Linked DNA regions of Homo sapiens: all the other regions are linked to region 2. The links are contacts of gene promoters, found by promoter capture Hi-C in human tissues and cell types (Jung and others, 2019). All regions are on one chromosome and are shown on one strand. The core of a region is centred on a gene start or on the middle of the fragment in contact, and the rest is flanking DNA. Distances in the headings are between cores, read along the strand shown.

Region 1 (2,700 bases), core at 149-2,648, 350 kb after region 2:
CTTATTCACTTAGCATAATCTTTAACATTCATCCATGTTGTAGCATGTATTAGGATTTCCTTCCTTTTCAGGGCTAAATAACATTTCCTGTAGATAGAAAGACAGAGAAAGGAAGGAAGGAAGGAAGGAAAATAGACCTTTTGTTTATCCATTCATCTGTCGATGGACACTTGGGTTGTTTCCATCTTCTGCCTATTGTGAATAATGCTGCTATAAAACATGGTTGTATAAATATCTATTCAATTCCCTGCTTTCAATTATTTTGGTTATACAACCAGAAGCAGAATTTCTGGTTCATATGGTTATTCTGTGTTTAATTTTTTTAGGAACTGCCATACTGTTTTCTACAAAAGCTACACCATTTTATATTTCCAAATGGTTCCAACTTCTCCACATCCTTGCCAACATTTGTTATTTTCTGGCTTTTTAAAAAAATAATAACCATCCTAATGGGTGTGAAGTAGTATTTCATTGTGGTTTTGATTTTCATTACTCTAATAATTAGTGCTGTTGAGCATCTTTTCTTGTGCTTATTGGTCATCTGTACATTGTCTCTGGAGAAATGTTTATTCAAGTCCTTTCCCATTTTTGAATTAGGTTTTTTCTTGTGGCTGAGTTGTAGTTCTTTAATATATTCTGGATATTAATCCCCTTATCAAGCAGTTCGGTTTTGAGTGGCTATTAAGATATCCACTTAGAAATATCTGGCAGGCAAATATATATGCTGATCTTTGGATTATTTGGAAGTGCTTCAGAGTTTCAAAGGGAAGAAGTAGCTGGCCATACTGATTAAGTTCTGGTCTCCACCCCAATCCCCAACACAGCTCAGATTTTATCTGCTGCAAAAGCTGGAATTCCAGCATAAGATTTCCTTTGAAAGTTAGAGTACAGTTGCTTTAAACAAATTTTAAACCACTACATCATATCATGCTATCTTATGTTCATAAAATTGTAGTTGAAACTGTAGAAATAAATTAGATTGTAAATTAGAAGACTTGATATAAGAAGGCGCATCCTACTATTGTGGGGTAAGAGAATAAAAGAAAACAGAAAGAAAGCCAGAATGGTGAAGTAAAACAAAAATCTAGGAAGAAGCATTTCAAGAGAAATGTATAGTAGACTACAGAAAATTCTATACAGAGGTCATGAAGAATGAGGACTAGAAAAAAGATACTGTGTTTGGCAATCATGAGGTCACTAGCGACCTTTAAGAGATCAATTTTAATTTAGTGAATGAAAGCATAAGTCAGACTACAAAACCTTTAGAAGGTGGAGTGAAGGTTGAGGGAGGGAAGATAAATACAGAATACTCTCAATTTTGGTAAAAGCTGTAATAATAATAGTGAATATTTACATAGCACTTAATATGTGTTCAGCCTCATTCTAAGTGCTTTACATATTAACTAATTTAATTCTCAAAACAACCTATGAAGTAGGTACCATCATTTTGCCCTTTTACAGTTGAAAAAACTGAGACTTTGAAGGAGCCAGAATTACATATTTGTGATAGTACGTATGTGTACATATGTGTGCATATGTGTATATATATATATATATACATACATGCACATATGGTAGATAAATCCAAATACATGTGATGGTAAAGACTACAATAATATAATATTCAGTGAGACAAAAATAAGAGTTTTTCACAATAGGGAGCCATAATGTGGGGAAGGATTTTATATTACTAATAACATCAATGTATGTTGGTGATGTTGGCTACTCATATCAGTTAGCAGGTATTGACAGATTTAAACAAAATAAGAACAAGCTGGCTTTTCCAGAATCTATCAGTGCTACAGGCCTCTATTCAATAAAACCATGAATGAATAGGGGGAAAAATGTAATTATCTCCAAGGCTTTCAAAGACACAATAGATTTTCCTGTTGCTCACAGACCAAAAGATAATGGAAGCACAAAAAGCTATTTTCCTGATTAGTTCCATTGTATGTTTATACCTAAAAGAAGCAACAATTTTTTTTAACAAAAAAGGTAAGGATTATCTGAAGATAACAAAAAGCTATTTTAAAGCCAGAAATCTGTAAAGTTTACTCTCAGAAAAAAGGATTAATATTTGGTAACATCTTGTCATCTTCCTTCCTACTAATATTACCCCTTTGGATCAACTATGCACCAAAGTATTACGGGGCATAAAAAATGTTAATACAGAAAGAATTTTATTAAAGCTTAATCTGGCCAGGCGCGGTGGCTCACACCTGTAATCCCAGCACTTTGGGAGGCCGAGGTGGGCGGATCACGAGGTCAGGAGATCGAGACCATCCTGGCTAACACAGTGAAACCCTGTTTCTACTAAAAATACAAAAAATCAGCCAGGCGTGGTGGCGGGCATCTGTAGTCCCAGCTACTCGGGAGGCTGAGGCAGGAGAATGGTGTGAACCCAGGAGGCGGAGCTTGCAGTGAGCCGAGATTGCACCACTGCACACCAGCCTGGGCAACAGAGCAAGACTCCGTCTCAAAAAAAAAAAAAGAGGTTAATCTAACTTGTAAGCAGTAAAGTGTTTTCAATCTTTATTGCAATATTAGACATAATTCTAAAATTTCTTATAATTGGAATTATATTAAAATAGAGCAATGTATCCTGTAGTCCCCACTTCCCAAGTTAATCACTTCCTACTCTCTTCCCCCATAGTAACTTCTTCTATTATTACAGAACATTGTGGTAAATGCCATTTTATC
Region 2 (2,700 bases), core at 86-2,585:
GCCAACAGTCCCAGAAAGAGCACTTTGCCACAATGTCTCTGGATCCCGCATCCCAGAGAGAAGAGCAGGCCCTGGAAGTAAGCACGAAGCCAGAGTGGAGCCTTCAGGCTCCCAGCTAGGATCTGGGATGGAAAGAGAAGGGTCAGCCAGGCATCACTGCAACAATGCATGAAATCCTTCCCTTCTCACCCTGTATATCTGCTGCCCAGCCCTCGCTTCTTGATTTCTGGATGTGGGACAGGGAGCACCAACACAGACACAGGCCCAGACTTGGAAGATGTAACACCCACCATCCCCAGCACACACCTGAGGAAGGCATAGGCCTATTTTCCTTTCTTTTCTTTTTGTTTTCTCTCCTTTTTTTTTTTTTTTTTTTTTTTGAGACGCAGTCTCGCTCTGTTGCCCTGGCTGGAGTGCAGTGGTGTGATCTCGGCTGACTGCAACCTCCGCCTCCCAGGTTCAAGAGATTCTCCTGCCTCAGCCTCCCGAGTAGTTGGGACTACAGGCGCCCGCCACCACGCCCTGCTAATTTTTTATTTTTAGTAGAGACAGAGTTTCCCCATGTTGGCCTGGCTGGTCTCGAACTCCTGACCTCAGGTAATCTGCCTGCCTCAGCCTCCCAGTGTTGGGATTACAGGCGTGAGTCACCGCGCCCGGCCGGCATAGGCCCATTTTCTGAGAGCAGGATACATATGTACACACACCTGTCGTCGGGTGGACACAGAGGTGAACCCACAGACATTCATTCTCACTGGCCAGACGATGAGGAGACACCGGCACAGACACACCGACACACACGCACAACTTGCTTGCGGTGCTGGCTCTCACTTGCCTTCAGACATCTAATGACACTCGGCACTTCAAGACATCACAAACCTTGCAGAGGCCCGAGTGACAGACCTGGCTCCGCTCTCTTCCTTCTTCCAGCTCCCCCTCTACTCACCTGGGGTGCTGCGGTTCGAGCTGGGGGTGTGTAACTCGGGGGCAGCTCTCTGAGGGGCGGCGATCGAGTCATGCTGGCGGGGATGGGGGGCGCGGGCGCCCCCAACCCGCGTTATCTGGGCGCTCCCATAGGCTAGCCCGGTCTCCCGGTACCGCTGGGCCCCGCGTAGGGATTCAGTGGGGCCGCCAAGGCGCGGGCGTGGGAGAGACTGTGGGGTGTGGGTGTTAAAGCGGCTGGGAGGGAGGAGTGCAGGGAGCTGCGGGTCCGGGGCGCGGCGCCGGGATTCACCCGCTCCGTGGGCCGTGGGCCGCGGCGGCTGGAGGAGGAATGGGTCCCGCGCGCAGGCGGAATTGCTGGCCCGAGACGCACAGCAGGGCTCGAGGTGGCAACTGCAGTCCCCGGGAGGCGGCTGGAGCTCCAGAAAAGGGAGCTGGCCGGGGCGACGCCCTCCCATTGGCTGAGGGGCCCGCAAATTACCCTAGCCGCGCGGCCCGGCCCGCTGCTAGGTAACGGCGCCGCAGGGGGCGGGGCGGGAGACCACCCAGGCTGGGCCACCCCGCGCCTCCCTCCCGCCCGCGGGGCCCCAGGGAGGAGGAGGGAGGGGGATCCCGGAGAGGCGCAGCGCCGGCCAAGTGTAAGTCCAGAGGCTTACGCTGAGAAAGGGCCTTTGCGGGCTCTGTTAGGGATACACTTTTTTTTTTTTTTTTAAGACGGGGTCTCACTCTGTCACCCAGGCTGGAGTGCAGTGGCTCCATCTCGGCTTGCAGGCTCCGCCTTCCAGGCTCAAGCCATCCTCCCACCTCAGCCTCCCGAGTAGCTGGGATCACAGGCATGCACCACCACGCCCGGCTTTTTGTATTTTTGGTAGAGAACGGGTTTCGCCATGTTGCCCCGGTTGGTCTCAGACTCCCGAGCTCAGGATATCCGCCCGCCTCAGCCTCCCAAAGTGTTGGGATGACAAGCGTGAGCCACCGCGCCCGGCCTAGGGCCACAATTTCTTTTTCTTTTCTTTTTTTTTTTTTTCAGGCTTAATTCACTTTATTTTTCTTGTATAAAAACCCTATGTTGTAGCCACAGCTGGAGCCTGGATCCTCTGCGCGGAGACTCTGGTGTGGGTCTTGACGAGGTGGTCAGTGAATTCCTGATAGGGAGACTTGGTGAATACAGTCTCCTTCCAGAGGTCGGGGGTCAGGTAGCAGTAGGTCTTAGAGATGGCATCAAAGTGGGTAGGGCCACACTTTCTTTCCGACCCAATCAAAGCCCAAGATTTCTTCTGTTCACTCTTCCCGGCTTCCATTCTTGCCCTCTTCAGTCCACTCTCTCCACTGAGACCAGAGTCATTTCTCTAACATGCAAATCTGATAGCTCCAAAGCACAAGGCCCACTTGGAGCACAGGGCCCTGTGTGATCTAGCTAAAGCCTTCTCTCCCATAGTTCCCTCACATCAGTGTTCCCTCGTTCCTGCCTTTGTACATGTTTTGGTCCTTTTGTCTTGGCAGATAATCTTCAAAAACTGAACTTGAATCACCCCCAAAACCCACCTTTTTTTTTTTTTTTTTGAGGCAGGATCTCCCTCTGTTGCCCAGGTTGGAGTGCAGTGGTGCCTTCACAGCACACTGCAGCCTTGAGCTCCCAGTCTCAAGGGATCCTCCCACCTCGACCTCCCAAATGGCTGGGACTACAGGTGTGCACCACCACACCTAGCTAATTTTTGTAATTTTGTATAGACAGGGTTTTGCCATGTTGCCCAGGTTGGT
Region 3 (2,700 bases), core at 6-2,505, 380 kb after region 2:
GGATATTTCAATGGGTTAGGAGAAGAATGTTAAAGCAGATTTAAGAACTATTTGGGAGGTGGACTAAGCAGACCTGGAGCAATAAAGAAGCTTTGATGAAAAATAAAGAAAGTAGAAAGTGGTTTCAAATCTTTAACTTGGACTATGTAGTAAAAGTTGAAGTCAATAACCAAAATAGAAAATTCAGGAGTAGCAGATTTCAAGGAAAGAATGATGAGTTCACTTTTGGGACATGTTAGGCTTGAGGTACTTGTGAGAAATCCAAGTGTAAATTGGTCTGAAGCCTAGGAGAATAACTTAGGACAAAGAAGAATTTGGTTAGGGTTAGGGTAAGAGCTGGGATCTTACAGAAAAAGTTAAGATCACCCAGAACAAGTATATAGAGTTGAGGGTGGGGAGGCAGGGAGGAACTAGGATGAAACCAAGTGACCACCAATAATTGAGGGGTAGACATACAGGGAGAAGCAACAAAAGAGACTGAGTCATACAAGAAGTGGAGAGTGTGGTCATACAAGCCCAGTGAGGACTGGAATTTAAGAAGGAAAAGCAAAACAAGGGAACAAGGAAAGAACAAAAGCCTTAGAAGAGTCCCACTACTAAGCTAAGACTCAGACCTCTTTGGAGAGGGAGTAGCTGCCTCAGGAACAAGATGCCTTCAGTTAGTGAAAGAACTTGCCGAATGTTGCTGACCAGAGCTGGCTCATAGGACTGACTCACCAGAGGGAGGAAAAACTTGCCGGACCATGTAGGCAGCTGGATCTGCTTTGTAGGGGCACCCCACTGGCTGATGGAAAAACTTGCTGAAGGACGCAGGTTGGCCGTAGCTGGTCAGTAAAAGCAACCTGCTAGGTAGCAGAGAAATATGCTAAAGGATGCAGGGCAAAGCTGGCTGCTGAGGAGAGCAATACCAGGCCTCCTTCATGATGTCAAAAACCAGCTCAGTGGAACCAGGAAATGAAGTATCTTTCTTCTTCTATGGCCTTGCAGTGTTTCTCCAGAACTCCCTATTGACAAGACTAATATCAAGCAGCTGACAAAGTAAACCTGTTTACAGGGTCCATCTCCAATATTAAATAGCATGGCAAAGAAGGGTACATTTGGATCTGAGAAGCAATAAATTAATAAATGGCACAATTCATCCCTTTGGCTTCCATATGCACCCATTTACACACATTCAAACTTCCATACAACAATAAAACAACTCTATGTTTCTACCTAAAAAGATTCGGTTAAACTTTATATAAGTGAATTTCTCACCAACTCCACAAAATGAGGAGACACATAGTCCGGTCATTATATCCATCATTAGTTATACTAATGACGCAAAAGGAACAGCAGTTTTTGCATTGTTGGAATTTGCCTTTTGATATTGGGATACACTCTCAAATAAATGTGGTTATGTTATACATTATTTTAATGGACACTCTCGCTTTATTTATTTATTTATTTATTTTGCTGATGACATTACTTGCTGTTTATTTTATGTTTATTTTAGACTATGGAAATGATGTTAGACAAAAAGCAAATTTGAGCAATTTTCCTATTCAAGTTCAAAAATGTCGTAAAGCAGCAGAGACAACTTGCAACAATGCATTTAGCCCAGGAGCTGCTAACGCTAATGAACGTACAATGCAGTGGTGGTTCAAGAAGTTTTGCAAAGGAGACAAGAGCCTTGAAGATGAGGAGCACAGTGGCTGGCCATTGGGAGTTGATAATGACCAAAAGAGCGCAAACATCGAAGCTGATCCTCTTACAACTACACAATAAGTTGCCGAAGAAGGCCGCCCCTACTGGGAAGTGAGGAGCCCCTCTGCCTGGCCAGCCGCCCCGTCCGGGAGGGAGGTGGGGGGGTCAGCCCCCTGCCCGGCCAGCCGCCCTGTCCGGGAGGGAGGTGGGGGGGTCAGCCCCCCGCCCGGCCGGCCGCCCCGTCCGGGAGGTGAGGGGCGCCTCTGCCCGGCCGCCCCTACTGGGAAGTGAGGACCCCTCTGCCTGGCCAGCCGCCCCGTCCGGGAGGGTGGGGGGGGGGGGGTCAGCCCCCCGCCCGGCCAGCCGCCCCGTCCGGGAGGTGAGGGGCGCTTCTGCCCGGCCGCCCCTACTGGGAAGTGAGGAGCCCCTCTGCCCGGCCACGACCCCGTCTGGGAGGTGTGCCCAGCGGCTCATTGGGGATGGGCCATGATGACAATGGCGGTTTTGTGGAATAGAAAGGCGGGAAGAGTGGGGAAAAAATTGAGAAATCGGATGGTTGCCGGGTCTATGTGGATAGAAGTGGACATGGGAGACTTTTCATTTTGTTCTGTACTAAGAAAAATTCTTCTGCCTTGGGATCCTGTTGATCTGTGACCTTATCCCCAACCCTGTGCTCTCTGAAACATGTGCTGTGTCCACTCAGGGTTAAATGGATTAAGGGCGGTGCAAGATGTGCTTTGTTAAACAGATGCTTGAAGGCAGCATGCTCGTTAAGAGTCATCACCACTCCCTAATCTTAAGTACCCAGGGACACAAACACTGCAGAAGGCCGCAGGGTCCTCTGCCTAGGAAAACCAGAGACCTTTGTTCACTTGTTTATCTACTGACCTTCCCTCCACTATTGTCCTATGACCCTGCCAAATCCCCCTCTGCGAGAAACACCCAAGAATGATCAATAAAAAAAATAAATAAATAAATAAATAAATAAATAAATAAATAAATAAAAGTTGCCGA

Evidence for each region. The method cuts DNA at HindIII sites, captures the fragments that hold promoters and counts their contacts. A contact is called where the count stands out against the background at its distance.
Region 1: a contact is called between a fragment that was not itself captured here and the fragment with the promoter of PTCH2 in region 2, in 1 of the 25 tissues and cell types used here (liver).
Region 3: a fragment that was not itself captured here is called in contact with the fragment with the promoter of PTCH2 in region 2 in 1 of the 25 tissues and cell types used here (adrenal gland).

The regions. Positions count from the first base shown.
Region 1 is chr1:45,192,399-45,195,098 of GRCh38, forward strand. The region is part of intron 1 of ZSWIM5 (zinc finger SWIM-type containing 5); the gene reads right to left. Among named protein-coding and RNA genes, the nearest start is that of ZSWIM5, 13 kb to the right of the region's middle. The HindIII fragment of the contact is 4,871 bases long and covers 1-2,700 here.
Region 2 is chr1:44,841,918-44,844,617 of GRCh38, forward strand. It overlaps PTCH2 (patched 2), which reads right to left and starts at 1,336. Exons shown (of 22, transcript NM_003738.5): 1 at 944-1,336; 2 at 1-122. The coding sequence starts at 1,015. RefSeq lists a silencer at 1,282-1,551. The HindIII fragment of the contact is 15,143 bases long and covers 1-2,700 here.
Region 3 is chr1:45,221,206-45,223,905 of GRCh38, forward strand. No RefSeq gene overlaps it. Among named protein-coding and RNA genes, the nearest start is that of ZSWIM5, 16 kb to the left of the region's middle. RefSeq lists an enhancer at 2,096-2,700. The HindIII fragment of the contact is 7,307 bases long and covers 1-2,700 here.